Regions from separate parts of the Homo sapiens genome. Here region 2 is linked to region 1. Evidence: promoter capture Hi-C in 16 types of primary human blood cells and fetal thymus (Javierre and others, 2016). All regions are on one chromosome and are shown on one strand. The core of a region is centred on a gene start or on the middle of the fragment in contact, and the rest is flanking DNA. Distances in the headings are between cores, read along the strand shown. Region 1 holds the start of DUSP10 (dual specificity phosphatase 10). Region 2 has its middle 160 kb from the start of DUSP10.

Evidence for each region. The method cuts DNA at HindIII sites, captures the fragments that hold promoters and counts their contacts. A CHiCAGO score of 5 or more calls a contact.
Region 2: a fragment that was not itself captured here is called in contact with the fragment with the promoter of DUSP10 in region 1 in 1 of 17 cell types (total CD8 T cells); the score reaches 6.6 in total CD8 T cells.

What each region holds. Positions count from the first base shown.
Region 1 is chr1:221,740,611-221,743,454 of GRCh38, reverse strand. It overlaps DUSP10 (dual specificity phosphatase 10), which reads left to right and starts at 1,366. Exons shown (of 4, transcript NM_007207.6): 1 at 1,366-1,474. RefSeq lists silencers at 130-609, 2,330-2,379 and enhancers at 383-1,020, 830-1,029, 1,360-1,549, 1,021-1,658, 1,659-2,296 and 1 more. The HindIII fragment of the contact is 7,400 bases long and covers 1-2,844 here.
Region 2 is chr1:221,581,433-221,584,276 of GRCh38, reverse strand. No RefSeq gene overlaps it. Among named protein-coding and RNA genes, the nearest start is that of DUSP10, 160 kb to the left of the region's middle. The HindIII fragment of the contact is 1,074 bases long and covers 830-1,903 here.

The sequences.
Region 1 (2,844 bases), core at 117-2,616:
TACCTGGCGCCGGCCAAAGTCAGGGGAGCGGGGAGAGGCGGCGTCACCTCCTCCACGCTCCTCCGGCCCCATTCAATCTAGCTATTTGCACTCGGCTCTGGCTCTTTTCCGCCAGCTGCGGCTGTTCCAGAAGCGCCGGGCTGCCGGTCCTGGCCTCGGCAGGGGCCGTGCGGGACCGAGGGGTGGCGGCCGAGGCATGTGGGGCGGGTGGGTTGCGCGCTGCTGGCACGGCGCGGGGACCCAGCGCGCCAGGCGGGAAAGGGGGGCGGCGGCGGGCGGGGACCCAGACCCGGAGGGGCAGCGGGCGCGTAGCGGGCCCCAGGACGCCCGGCCAGGGGATTGGCCTCTGCACCGCTGCTCAGGGCGCGTCCCTTGCCGCCTCTGGCGTCGACTCAAGCCTCCTCCTCCGAGCAGCCCTCAGTGGCGCCGCCTTAGTGCTCTGGGTCGAGCCCCGGGAGGGTTAGCCTGGGGACGGCAGGGGCGTGACCGTGGCGCGGAAGTAGGTGAGCAGCAGGGCGGCGCGCGGCGGTCAGGCCGGGACAGCCAGAGGGGCAGCGACATCTGCGGGCGGGCGGGCGGGAGGCGGACGCTTCCCGGGCGGAGCAGGGCCCTCCGGAGGACGCAGGCCGCGTCGAGGCTGAAGGGCCTCCCTGTCCGGGACGGTCAGCTGCCAAGTTCGGGCCCTTAGCGCGTGGCCCCGGGCCGCGGCTCGGAGCGGAAGCGTCGCCCCTGGCTGCGCGCTCATGCTGGTCCTAGCGCAGAAGACCCGGCGAGGTCCGCGAATTTTGGCTTAGCGTTTGTCAAGTCACCTCGAGCGACTCGGAGAGAACCCGGCTTTCCCACTAGGGACGGTGATCGCAGTCTCTTTCCTTTAGAAAGTTACTCCGATACTTTTGATCATCTGTCCATAGTAAGGAGGAAAAATAGCGTGGTTTGTCCCCGGGTGAGGGAGTGTTGGAGGATCCCGTCCAGTGGGAAGAGCCAGTTTTAGCGGAGCAGCGCGTCCAGCCCGCTGACACTTCAGCCTGGTAAAGGGTTAACTGCATCCTGCCGGTTCGGTTTACATGTAAATAGAGAGCAGCTGCTCCGCGCGGCCCCGGCTGGCTCTTTTAAGTTTTTGATTGGTTGCCAATGACATCACCGCCCGTGTTTTAACACCGAGGACCCAGAGCAGCTTCGGATAAACCCTCCTTAAAGAGATGAGGCCACGCCTTCTTACCCGCCCCCTAGGCTGCCCATTGGTCGCGGGGCTCTGTGAGGTAGCGGTCGGCTTTCTCCGGATTCTTATTGGCCCAACCCGCCGTCGGTCGGCGGCGAGTCCGCCCCCTCAGAACCTTACATTTACAGTGTAGCAAAAGAGAAAGTAACTATGTTGCTGCTGGAGATCAATGAAGCCGAGTGAATGGGGGCTGAATGTGCGAGTCCATAGCTGAAGAGGAGCGCCAGATGGTGGAGGAATACACTTATTTATGAAGTAAGTGGAAGTCACCGCGACTACTCCTGAGAGCCCGGGACTGGAGGTGGAGGATTGTAAGGCGGTGCTTGTGTGAGTGTGAGTGTGTGTGTTTGTGTGTGTGTATCTGTGTGTGTGTGAGAGAGAGACAGAGACAGAAAGATAGAGATGCGATGCTGACGGAGGAGCTACAGCAGGTAGGGTTATAAGGTTCCGGCCGTTGGCTCCTGCTACCCTGTGCGTTTACTCCCTGCAGTCTACTTGGATTTGGGGCGAAGAAAAAATGAGGTTTGTTGGGATGCTTTGCGGCAGTTTTAAATGCTCGGGGCTCATTAGTGCGCTGTGTGCCGAGGAGTGAAGCGGGGGGCGGGGGGATGTTAAGTGCTCCAGGAATGGGGAAGAAGCATTCTCTAACCACTTAATTTTCTCTCCAGCTCTTGCCTAGTGGTGGAAGGGAGAGGGGATAGCTCAGTATTTCTCTGGGAGATTTTCTGGGCCAGACTGGATGGTTTCACGGGCAGTATGTACGCCCGACCCTCTGCTGCAGGGATGCAGGTCTCTCTATACACTCCGTGTGTGTGTGTGTGAGCCTTGAACTCTGTGTGGAGGTGGGGGTCCCAGCGCGTGTCTCTGTGAACACGCTTATGCGTCCCTCTCAGAAGAAATGGTATGTTGATCCTGGACGTGTCCTACCAGGTAACACAATAGCAAAGACTTTCACCGCTTGGTCCAACCGGGAAACAGTTATAGCTTCTGGAATAGAACTCGCTCTTCAGAAAAAATACTACGCAAGGGAAGGGGGGTTGACTCCTTCGCTCCCATCCAAAGGTGGGTGAGAGAAACCCGAGTCGTTGGAGATCTGCCGACGTGATGGGTGCGTGCCCCGTGTGCGCGCGTGAGTGTGGATTCCGCCTGTGACACTTTGGTTCTGTGTCAGAGAATGGTGACGGTCGTGTGTAGACGGATGAGAATGGTGACGGTCGTGTGTAGACGGATGATAGATGGCATTTTTCCTGATAGCTCTTAAAGTTCGTTTAGGTGAGCGTCTCTTGGCGTGGGGTTTGGCGTCTTTGCTATGTGCATGTCTAATAGAAGAAGAAGAGTTAGCAAGCCTGAGTTGTAGAGTGCCCCTGTGCCTACAGGAGGAAGGAGCTGTCTTTTTGCAGACACTCTGAAATCAGAGATAGATCCGGTGGGCAACAATTCACTGTCCCTTTCAACGAGTACAGGCTAATTGGGAGGTCCTCTTTACGGAATCAGTACTCTTGAAGGGGGGATATCTGTATGGGATTGAAACCTTATACAACGTGGCTGCCTCCCATTGAGAGAAGCTCTAGGATGCACAGTCTGTGCCAGCCAGGGAGATGAAGAGGGGAGGAGAGCCCAAGTTG
Region 2 (2,844 bases), core at 117-2,616, 160 kb after region 1:
CCTATCCATTCAACTACTCTCCTCTTGTATTCTCACAACAGAAACCAAGAAATAACTCTCAAATTATCCATATTTCAAATCCCACATTCACTATCTCGGTTCAGGCTCCTATCACCCTTTAATTTGATGATTCATTGTTTAACTCTCCTAGCTGCACTTCCTACATCTAGTCTTGCCTTCAATCCTAGTCACTGAAGAGTGTTGTTGTTGTTTTTTTTTTCTACAACATCTCACACACTTTATCCCTAATAAAAACCCTTCTGTGCAGTCTATTACTCTTGGTGGCAGACAGAAACTCCTTAGGATGGCATGGGGTCTTTCATGATCTGACCTCTTTTACCTGCCCGCACTCCCTGACACTCATTCTCTCAGTCATGTTGAATCACTGTATTCCCCCAGGTCCCATTCTCTCTTTTGCCACTGATCATTTATACACATTGTTCCCTTTGCATGTAAACGCCTCTCTAATCTCGCCAATAGTTGTCTGACTGACTCCATTAGCTCTCAGTTTAGAGTTTTCCATACTAGGAAGATGTTACTGACCTGCCAAGTTTGGCCAAAGCATTCCTTTCCTGTATTCCTCTATCAACTTTGCATGTATTTATCATACTTTTCTTTAATGCCATGCATAGTTCTTGACATAATTTGAGTTGAATAATAGCTCAGAGGATAGCCAATGAGGTCATGACAGTCCAGAGAGGTCTAATTCAGAAGTTACCAAAAGTTACTAATCCTATGAATGTGTCACAGGAATAATTGTTTAATAATTTTGTTGAGCTGTAATTGACATATAATAAACTGAAATGTAAAGTACACAGTCTAATAAGCTTTTACAAATGAATACAGCTGTGAAACCAACATCATAATCAAGATAACAAACATCAATCACCCTCATTTGGGTTTTTCCACTTCTGTATTTCAAATAAAGCTATTATGAAACTTTGGTACAAGTATTACATGGATATGGATATTTAACTTAGGTAAATATCTAAGAGTGGAATAGTTGTATCATACATCTGATGTATGTTTAACTTTTTAATAAGCAAACTGTTTTCCAAACTCATTGTAGCCATTTACATACCTACAAGCAGTGTAAGAGAGATCCAGTTCCTCCACATTCTCACCAATTTTGGACAATATAATAGGTGTGAAGCAATTTCTCATTGTGATTTTAATTTGCATTTCCCCAATGTCTATTCATGTTGAGCAACTTTTTGTGTGTTTATTTTCCATCTGTATATTTTGTCTAATGAAGTGTGGTTCAAATCTTTTCTCTTATTTGATTGCTAATTTTCTTGTTATAGAGTCTTGATATTTCTTTACAAACCTTGCAGCACAAGTCCTTTATCAGGCAGGTAATCAGAAAATATTTTCTCTTGGTCTGTGGCTTGACTCTTTTCTTGTTCTTTTTAACTTTTTATAATGAAAAATTTCAAACTTACACATAGAATAATACCTGGGTGATAAAATAGTCTGTACAAGAAACCCTCATGACACATCTTTACCTATGTCACAAACCTTCACATGTACCCCAGAACCTGAAAAAGTTAAAAAAAGAAAAATTTTGATATAATGAAAACCAGATTTAGCAATTACAAAAACAACAATATTTTTCAAAATGCAGGTTCCATAATCATTTTTATAGTATGGGGCTAGCTGTCTTTGTTAAAATAAATTAGGAAACCTCAGAGCACTTTGCACAAAGGAATATTCATTCATTAAACTTTTATTTCACATACAGAGTCAAATGGGTGGACTTGATCCCAATAAAGAAAACCGTACTTCTTACTATGGATTGCTGTCATACATTTAAAAGAGACTGCAAACCCTTTGCTTTGGCAACTATTAAGGACCGGAAAGCATACAACAAACTTTCAGAGATGAGTTTTAGTTAAAGAAAGCTTAAAGTTGAGTTACAAAATAAAACCTATAGTATTAGAAATGCTTATGTAGAATAATGCCACAAATTGTTTTTTTAACAATTTAGAAGCCCTAACTAACTTTCTTTGTTCACATTTGCATATGAAATCCCATCCCCTTAGAATCTAGGACAGCTCCCCATAATCAACCATTAATATATCAATCAGCAGTAAATTGTATACATATTAAGCGTGAAAAATAAAGATTATGAAAAGCCTAGTGTTAGATCTTGCCACCAAATTTGAATAAAATACTTTTGGCTTTCAGATTTTTGTACTCTGACTTGTGAATAAGAGACTGTGGCCTGGGGTATGTTAACAGTAGGTAGGGTGGAAGTGGGGTAAAAGAGGAAGGCAGGTGGGCCGGCACTTTGGCATATTTCCTCTTCATAAGCAGATAACAGTGACAGGAACACTGGCTACTGAGTGTCATCCAATATTCTTTTTCTTTTTCTTTTTTTTTAACACACTTGAAGAAGTCACAGGAACTTATTTTTAAAAGCTCTTTGGAAGAAAGCAAATCATTTTCTGGGCACCCTTAAATCCAGAATGGGGGACAGGGATGAGGAAACAGTATCAGGGTCCTGTCCTGTTCTACACATTTTACATTTAATACTCCTAACCCCTCCTAACAATGTAATTCTCATTTTACAGATGTTGAATCTGAGGCAGAGAAGAAACTAAGCTAGGCAGCAGGGCCTGAGAACTAATTTCCGCCCACATGATGGGGAAGGGGCAGGGCTTGTGATTTGAAAGCCAAGTCAAAAACTGAAGGTATGGCTCCTCTCTTAGCAGTATCTTTTAAAGAGCAAAAATTCCTAACTATGTTTATCAATTTTTAATTTTGTGGATTGTGCTATTGTTATTATATTTAAAAAACTGTTTTTGAACTCACAATCACAAATATTTATTCCTATGTTTTCTT